Linked DNA regions of Homo sapiens: region 1 is linked to region 2. Evidence: promoter capture Hi-C in 16 types of primary human blood cells and fetal thymus (Javierre and others, 2016). All regions are on one chromosome and are shown on one strand. Each heading gives the region's core, a stretch centred on a gene start or on the middle of the fragment in contact. The rest is flanking DNA. Distances are from core to core; before and after follow the strand shown. Region 1 overlaps MSH3 (mutS homolog 3). Region 2 holds the start of CKMT2 (creatine kinase, mitochondrial 2).

Region 1 (4,499 bases), core at 1,301-3,800, 470 kb before region 2:
AGTCTATTCCAATTGGTGTCATCTTTCATTTATGCAGGAGTGAGTTATTAAAGTAAAACTTTATATTTGTATAACATTTTGGGTAAATGTTAGAGTAAAACATTGGTTTATTTTATCACAACAATCCTTTGCAAAGAAAATTTATTTTTTCCAGCTCATCTTGATTTACTTTATATGTAGTCTTCAGAATGAAATTGAATCGAATAACTGTTTATTGAGCACAAATTGTTATCCTGAAATGTAGGGATAAGAAATGACCCCTGTGTTCACTGAATTTATAGTCTTGTAGGAAAGACAGTGAAGTAGTAAATTCCCATTGAAGAAGAAATACAATTATGATTACCATTATGAGAAGGGAAAAGACGGTAGTATGGGAAATGATAGTAAAGGGATTAAGTCTGGTCTAGTGAATCTAGAAAGGCCTTTCAGAGGAAGAGAGGGTAGGAGTTCGCCAGACGAAGTGTAGCTGATGGGTGGTAGGGAAGAGGAAAATAACCTTCTAGGCAAAGTAAGCAGCAAATGAGAAAGCCTCCATGTCAGAGAGCTTGGAGTAACTAAGTCATTGAAAGATATGCAGTCTGACTGGAACTTAGAGTAGGAGGAAGAGAGTGACACATGATCTCAGGGGAGACCCAAGAGCTAAACAGGCATCAGTTGTTTTTTAGGACAATTAAAGATTCTGGATTTGAACCTAAGATTAATAGCAAGTCACAGATGAGTTTAAAGCAGAGGTGTGACATGAACAGATTTGGGCTTTAGGAAAACCACTCAGGCTGCAGTGTGGAGAATGAGTTGGAAAAAGGAATGGAAGTGGGGAGGAAAGTTAGGAGGCTGTTTCAATATAATTTGGACTTAGACTATAGTAGTGGCTGTAGAGGTGGAGAGTGGTGGATGGATTACAGAGTCCACCCTGCTGAGAATGGAAGAGCCAGCCCGTGTGTGTACAAAGCTCTGTCTTGCTCTCCTGCATCGTACTAACAAATGGTCCTTCTGCATGCAAGAGTATGAGCCAGAGAAAAATGGAACAAAAATGAGGCCTGAAGTTAGTATAGAAGCTCTGTATTATGAAAAGGCATGATCTCACAGGTAGTTAAGGATAATAAAGACAAAAGCACTCACTAAATCGAAAGTCCTCAGTCTGATTGTAATCTAGCCAGGATCCTGATCTAAGATTTGCTTTTCATATCAGTGTGTATGATGTCAACAGAATTTTGAGAGACACCAAGTTTATTCAGTGGCTGATGCCTCCTTTCCCCCAAAACATCAGTTCATTCTTTCATCCACTTGTTTATTTATTCATTCATTCATTTACAAACACTTTAAATCCTTACTGAGGACTTACTACTCACCAGACATGTTTACTTATCTTAGTTTTTAATACTACAGATGGTCATTATACCTAGTGTGGGCCTTTGATGTTTATAGGTACTTCATGGACCACATCTCATTGATGATACATTTAGTCCATCAGATTTCCGTTTTAAGTTGAGTCATCACTTAAGGTGTAGCCGTTGGTAAAATCCCGCAGCACTGATCTCCTATGTATCTGAATGTCATATCCTCTGCACTTTCTATTGCTACTCCCCAATCTTTGGTCAGGGTCAATATGTTTAATTTAATTCATTCAAACAGTTGGTCAGTTCAGCCATCACCACCACCACTAGGTCGTCTTGTTGGTCATTGTTTAACTATTATATTAGCCAAGGTAATGCAAGCTATCAGCAAACAAATTCTCCGTCTAAGTGGCTTAAATACATTAGAAGTTTATTTCTTGCTAATATAAGTTCAATTGGTAACAGATCCGGGAATGGTGGATTTTCTGCTCCACTGTGGGCTCAGGCTGATGGAGTTACCATGAGGCTCACAAGCTTGCCTAGCTGGCAAAGGGGATTAGGAGAATGTGAAAGCTTATTCAGGAAGTTTTTATGGGCCAGGGCTAGAGGTGGCTTACATCATTCCCACCCATGCTTCAGAACTGAGGTACATGGCCATACCTAACTACAGGGGAGACTGGGAAATGTAGTCTTTGTGTTTGCTTGGTGAGCCTGTCTTTGTCAAACCCAGCTAGTGAATTTCCTTGTATGATACCTGCTCTTTGATTCAGATAATAATAAGAGGCATGGAAGGACCAGATATATTGTTGTAGGACTTTTTCCTTAGTTCAGTTAAAGACAGCGAGGTTGGGGGAGGGTGGTCCTCATCACACAGCCATGTAAAATTAGGCCCGCAGACAATTCGAAGGAGGAGAAAAATGGAATTTATTGGGCAAAGAGCAATAAAAAGGGAAACAAAGACTCTCCAACAAGACAGAACGAGAATCTTGCTAGTATGCTTCCCGCCTCACAGACTGTAATCCCAGGTTCCACCCAGGAGGAGGAGGGGCCAGGCTCCTCCCTGCTGCCAAAGGCGTGAACTTCTGTGTCTCCACCCCAGTGCACCCTCCTCTCAATGCATACGCCCATTGGAGTTTTGTCAGGGAGTCCTTCCCACATGACTATCTCAGTATGAAGGAGGAGTTTCCTTTGTGCCTAATAAGTGGCTGTGTCACATTCCTGGGCATTAGAGTGGGAAATGTCTATATTCTGAATTCCTAACATATCTGATTATTGCTATTACTCTTTTCTCACAGGGAAATAAATGCCCGGCTTGATGCTGTATCGGAAGTTCTCCATTCAGAATCTAGTGTGTTTGGTCAGATAGAAAATCATCTACGTAAATTGCCCGACATAGAGAGGGGACTCTGTAGCATTTATCACAAAAAAGTAAGTGTGATAGAAATCTATTAAAGCTGACAGTGTTCTTCAGCTTGAGGACACTATATATTAAAAGAAAACTTTTGAGAGCTCTATTATTATTTTATTTTGTAAAATCTTACAAATAGCATGCGAGAGTAGCTGAATCCTCAGAAATTTTAATAGTACAAATTAGAGTTATTCCAATTTTTCCATTGTAGAAAATAAAGTTTTCTCATGTGCCTTAACTACAGCAACATAGAGGCCCTTCTGTTATAATATAGGGTATTCTCCTGTTTCATCCTGAAAGTACAGACTATTATCAAAATAGGAAATTTATGTAGACTTGTTATTTTAGAAAAAAAAAACCTTATTTCTTTTGATCTTAGAACAACTTATTGTTTCTTAAACTATGGAAAAATCTGCTAGTATAACATCTGTGGTGGTAGTTAGTATGCAAACAAGCTTGGATATTGAAGGTGAGTAAAGGATTATTTTGATTTTTATCACTTAAGCTTTACAGTTTGAGTCATAGCAAAAATGAGTCATTTTCCACGGTTAGGGAAATAATTTAGGTTATCTTCAAAATATGCCTAAAATTAAAAAAATTATTAATATTTTTAAATGATAAAACACTATAAACTATGGTGTTTTACTTTTTGCAGAAGTCATTCACATACCTTATACTCTTTGTTCCTTATCAAAACTTTATGACATTGAGAAGTTACTATTTTTATTACCTTCTTACTAATAAGAAATTATATCTAATGCTATATATGTGTGTGTATATATATATGTATATATATAAAATGCTGCAACCACTTGAATTACCTTGGCTAATATGATGATGCTCAGAGGTTTAGTAACTTGCTAGTAACAGAATCTGTATTTAGACCCAGGATTCTTGACTGTGTTTTCATTGGCTGTGTCTTTTGGATGCTATCATGTTTGATGTAGTTATCTTGACTGCCATTTTTTTTTTCTGGTTGCCACTTTTCATAAGCAAATTTTATTTTTCCTCCAAATGTAACTCCTTGCCAATTTAATAATTTTACTGTGTAACCATTTTTATGTGCCTAAATTTTTATTTTATTTTGTTTTATTTTGTTTTATTTTATTTTATTTTAATTTTTTATTTTATTTTATGTTATGTTATGTTATGTTATGTTATGTTATGTTATGTTATTTTATGTTATTTTATTTTATTTTATTTTTGAGACAGACTTTTACTCTCGTCACCCAGGCTGGAGTGCAATGGCGTGATCTCGGCTCACTGCAACCTCTACCTCCCAGGTTTAATCGATTCTTCTGTCTCAGCCTCCTGAGTAGCTGGGGTTACAGGCACCCGCCACTATGCCTGGCTAATTTTTGTATTTTTAGCAGAGATGGGGTTTCACCACATTGGCCAGGCTGGTATCGAACTCCTGACCTCAGGTGATCCACCCGCCTCGGCCTCCCAAAGTGCTGGGATTACAGGCATGAGCCACTGCGCCCAGCCAATATGCCTAAATTTTAGTTGTGACCAATTTTTCATTAGTGTTTCTATATTTTTCATCCCCTTTTACCCCCACAGAGTTTTACTAGAATGATAAGTACTGCTTCTAAGAATACTTGAGGTGCCCAAGAGGACTTACGTAACTGTTTTACATGCCTCAGCTAAATTTGAAAACAATGCACAAGCCAGAACTGGAAATACTGATCCTGGGGAGAAAGATATATGAGTTGGTTATGGGGCCGGGGAGCCTATTGCATCATTATTGGGTACAC
Region 2 (4,872 bases), core at 910-3,409:
CTCACTACTACCTGGAACAGCTCAGTCCATTGCACAGCAGCTCAACGCTCCTGAATGGGTGGTGGAGAGAGGAGAAGCCGCCAGGGTAGAGTCCTGGCCTAATAGTCACCAGGCTCCACCTAGGAGGGGCTTCTGAAATAAGACTCCTGTCTACCCCTAAAATAACTGCAGTGGTTATATGGATTACTATATATGAAAATACTTTAACTTCTATGAAGTTGTGGCAACATTTAGAGCTGATGGAATTAAGTTACAGTTGCTGGACACAAGAATAGACTAAGGAAAGGGGTCCCTCCTGCCCAATTCTGAAATGAGCAATCCAGGCTGGTGCGACAGAGGAACCCAGGTTCCTTTCATCCTATTACTTGCTCATCCCACAAGGCGTCATCCTTGCCTTCGAGGTCAAATCTGGGGCCTGCTCTAGCCACACTCCTGCTGGACTCAGGAACAGAAAAGAGAATAAGTCCAGGACATTTTCCTTTAAAGCAAATGATATGGCAGTCGCACACTTCAATTCTGTTCCTGCCCTTATGGCAGAAGCCAGCCACAGGGCAGCCTGGTGTGGCTAGAGCCCCAGAGCTTCAAAAGGAGTTGGTAACGATGAGAAGGGAATAGATGCCATGTGACAGGGATGGCATTTGAAAGATTTCCAGAAAGCCAGAATTTCTACTGTGAGTCCCTTGTAGAGATTTCATCCCCATCACACCACCTTTATAATAAGCTTGAAGAGGACCAGTCCCCCAAAAGAAGGGTGGTACCCTCTTTTCTCAACAATGACCCAATTTTTCTTCTGACCTTACTAACATAAACATTTACTCTATAAAATATAAGGTGTTGAGGTCGGGTGAGTGGAGGGGGCCCTAAATGTTGATTAGGCAATTGGGGAGGAAAAGGAGGTTTTTGCTATAACTGCCATTCTTTAAATCTACAATTCCATGCTCTTTAAAAGCCTTATAATTTTCTGGATCTGGGAGCTGGGCTATTTCAGGGTCAATGGATTTATTTCAGTTGGTGCCTGAACTGACTTGAAACAAGTGTGTGTGGAAAAGAGCTATTTTGAGAAGGAATAAACCGAGACTGCCCTGATGATAGAATATGCAAGCTGGTGGGTCTTGACTCCTTAAAGGATTATGAAATTAATTTGATTGGTCCCAATCTTTATATAACCACCCCAATCAGGAAACTTCCCATCCCGCCAAAAGGCCCCCTCACGTGCTCTCCCTGTCAGTACCCCATGCAAAGGTAAAATAGATGATATTTTTAAACATGGGTCGTGTTTAAAAGAAATGGAAACTCCTTCAGAGAATGAAGGAGAACCACACTGGGTAGAAGGTTATTCCTGGGGCTCCACCCCTTGCTCCATCAAGTCCTCTGAGCATGAGCTGGGCTCTGAGAAGGAAGAGACAGGAACCAATTGGTCATGTCCACGTGGCCTCAGAAGCTGAGTACGTGACGGTCACCAGATGCCTAGGCAGGCTCCCTTGAAATGGCAGGGCTGCTGTCCAAAATCCTGCTGGGTCATTGCTATTTACAGGCAGCCTTCCCGGCGTGCGGTGGATATCCCAAGCGGGGCTATTTTTAAGCAGGGCTATGGCCTGCCGTGGGTTAAGCTGGTGTGGACAGAAAGCGAGATGATCTAGCCATCTACTGCAGGGGGCCTGATCTTGAACAGAAACCTGACTGTAATTGTCCCTGGATCCAGGTCCCAGACAAAGACGCTGGAAGGAGGTCCCTCCAGCCCCTGGCTCAGGGCCCGGTCAGCTGCTGGAGCCAGGCAGCTTGAGACATCCTCCTCTCCGACCTTGGCTTGAGGGGTTCATCCTCCAGAGCTCACCAGGGCCCCAAGGCTGGTACACCTGAGAGAAGAGAGAAACAAATCCCCCAACAGATGTGCAATTTCACCTGCTGGCCCTTCCATTCTGAGATCCAGAGCCCTGGCAAAGGAGCCTCCAGGACCAGGCCTGGGAAGCAAGACTGGCTCCGCCTTTTACGTTTCAGAGAAAGGGCAGGTGCTATAAAGGGCCCAGCGCCCACGGGCCTGCCTTCAAGGGTACAGCTGTGGGGGCCGGTGCGCCCGGAGGTCTACGCTGGGATTGGTGAGGTCCTCTGGCCCCGCCCCGCCAGGGAGGATTTCCAGGCCGGCCCGACCAGCTCGCCCTGCATACACTTCTTGGCTGTGTGCGCTCAGCAGGACGTGGGAGGCTCCGGCTTCAAGGTCGGTGAGTCCGTGAAACTCTGCTTTATTCCTCCAAAGAGGGGTCATGGCTAGAGCCAGTGTGAAGGGCCTTGGAGGAGTGGATGCCGGGCTGTAGACGGGGACCCCGTTAGGACGCTGACTGCGAGGAGGCAATGGTGACTCGCTAAAGCCAGCAGAGCTCCCGCCCTTGGCCGAAGCGACCCCTCCTCCCTGCACACAGGTGGGGGCAGCTCAGCACCAGGAGCAGAACAAATCAGCACGCTGCCTGCAGGGCCTCTTTTTGGTAGTGAATCAGGAATTTTTCTCGATGGAAAAAAAAATCTAAAGGCTGTATTTTGACGCTAAGTTTGGGACAACTTTAAACTTAAAGTGTCTTTCCCTTGTAATTCACAGAGTCTAATCCACTCATTTCTGGGAATGTTTTTCCCCAGCAGTCTCAGTCTCAAAAGACATGTAAATCAGTGACTTGGGATGAACTAACTAGAAAATTAAAATTTTGAGAAGCTATTTGCTCATAAGCCCAATAGCCAGGCCCAGTTTAAACGGGCAAATAGTATTGCTAGAGATTCAGTTTTGCCGTCACTAATACTAACACATTGATAATGAGACAAGTAACCGTCTCCCCTCCCCACCATCCTTACCTTTCCCACCGGAGGTTAATTAAAAAAAAAAAAAAAAAAAAAAAAACCTATGGAATTGGCCCCACGTGTTTCACCTGGGCAGAGGCCTGTTCTTCACTAGCTTGCTTGCTTGGTTGGTTGTCCCGGGGTTAAAATCAGTCCTGTTCTTGCCCCTAGAGTGGTCTGCCTTCAAATGCTCTCCTCCGAATGTGAGGAAGAGTGACATTTGACAAACAGACCAAAACCTTTAGGTCTCCTCAGTGCTGCCCTTTAGACCTTCCAGAAAGTGTTGCCAGGCTCGTGACCCCTCACAGTGTCAGCTGAGTCAAGTGAGGGGCAGTTAGTGGCCCTCAGGACAAGGTTACGCTAGGTACACCAGTGTGCTGTTTCCAGAAGGGCTGCTTTTCCTGTCTACGGCTCTCACATTTTCTCTGTTCTGAACTCGTGTCCTTGGTCTGTTCTCTCTGTCCTCTCATAGAGGCGAGCATGGCCACAGCATGTGGCCAGAGACTTCCTGACAGGCAGGCTCTTCCGGGAGGCTCTTGGCCTTGTTTGGCGGTCTGAGCACTTCACTTCCTCTGCATTGATAGGCACCTTTTCCAAAGACCCCAGACTTTGGAGTTAATCACGCCTGTGGGTTAAGGCACTGTCACAGCAAAGCACAGGAGTGCCACATGCACCCCATGGACTCTGCCAGCCTCATGACCAAATCATATCATTAGGAAATGGGCCATAGGCAGGTCAGTTTTCCTAAGGAAACTGTGGGTTGGGTCGGGGGGAGTACCATACAGAATGGGGAGTCCTGGGGTTTCAGACACAGGAGGGAGACTGACTTTGCCCCTAGCTCAGAGGCCCTGGGCCTCCATCTCTGCCATAGCCTACAGCAGGCTCCATTTGTCTTCCCAAAGGAAGCCACGTAGAGTCTGTGTCAAGCATTCTGGGAGCTCCTGCCCACAGAGCCAGGAATCCAGCAGCAACCCATGCTGAAGGTGACTGCTGGAGGTCACACTAACCCTTGCCAGGAAGCCTCAGAGACTCCCTCCCTTGGGCGGGGAAGAAGGCAGCCCACTTCACAGCACTTCAAAGGACTAGATGGCTCCTAGCTTCCTGTTTTCTTGAAAACAATTTACCCTTGAGGGACAAAGTCTGGTAACGGTCCCATGCCTTCATCACAGGAGGCCTAGGAAAGGCCTCTGTTTTACAGAGTAGGATTCTAAATATCTCCTTCCTGCCTAGGACTGTCTATTTGCTGAGTAGAACAGTAATGCCAAGAGTGCCCATTAAGGTTGGCTGCGTACTAAGTGGTTTTGAGGTAACGCACACCCTTTGCTATCTTAGAACTGGGAGGAGACAGGCATTTTCTGCGGCCTAGGAGCCTGGCATCGTGAGAATTTGTTCAGAGTGTTCTGTGGAGCTGGTCCAAGCCCAAGGACATCCTCTGTTTTGGGGTGGCTCTCTGGATGGAAAGCTGACACGTGGTCCTCCTCCTGCCCTTCCACCTGCCCTCTGGCTGAGGAGTTCAGACACATGGACGCTGTGAATGGCTGGACCAGAAATAAATCTGAGTCAGCAGAAAGGCAGACATGGTCCATCCGGGATGCCCAGGAAGAGCAGGGGGCTCGGGCTGGAGGCAGTGACAGAACCCAAGGCCTCCTCTTCACATTCTAGGATGTCACAGAACCAGAGAAGAGCATTAAGACCAGGATCTGAACTCCCAGTATACCTGCCTGGGACCAAGAAATGTACAGCTTGTGGCCACTTAACAAAAGGGCTTGATGTAGCTGTCGTTGTTTTTTTAATGCGGAGGGCAGTGTAGGAACAAACAGGATATTATTGCTTTTGGCTCTGTCTGGCTGTGCTCTTGCACCTCCCCATCGCTCCAAATCTCCCTGGCTTGGAGCCCAGGTATTCTGCCAATTTTAGCCTAGATGCTGTAAGCAGTGTTTTTCAATTCAGGAGTCATTGTGGTGTTCCAGGTTAGGGAAACTGAGGCAGAAAGCTTCTATGGGGTGAGAGCTGGAGACCACCTTCCTCTTCACACTGGCACAGCATCCC

The links. Contacts are between HindIII fragments. The CHiCAGO score rates a contact against its expected background, and 5 or more counts as called.
Region 1: a fragment that was not itself captured here is called in contact with the fragment with the promoter of CKMT2 in region 2 in 1 of 17 cell types (endothelial precursors); the score reaches 5.8 in endothelial precursors.

Annotation. Positions count from the first base shown.
Region 1 is chr5:80,758,917-80,763,415 of GRCh38, forward strand. It overlaps MSH3 (mutS homolog 3), which reads left to right. Exons shown (of 24, transcript NM_002439.5): 13 at 2,630-2,762. Among named protein-coding and RNA genes, the nearest start is that of DHFR, 110 kb to the left of the region's middle. The HindIII fragment of the contact is 1,290 bases long and covers 1,906-3,195 here.
Region 2 is chr5:81,231,163-81,236,034 of GRCh38, forward strand. CKMT2 (creatine kinase, mitochondrial 2) reads left to right here and starts at 2,160. Exons shown (of 10, transcript NM_001099735.2): 1 at 2,160-2,215. The HindIII fragment of the contact is 4,095 bases long and covers 720-4,814 here.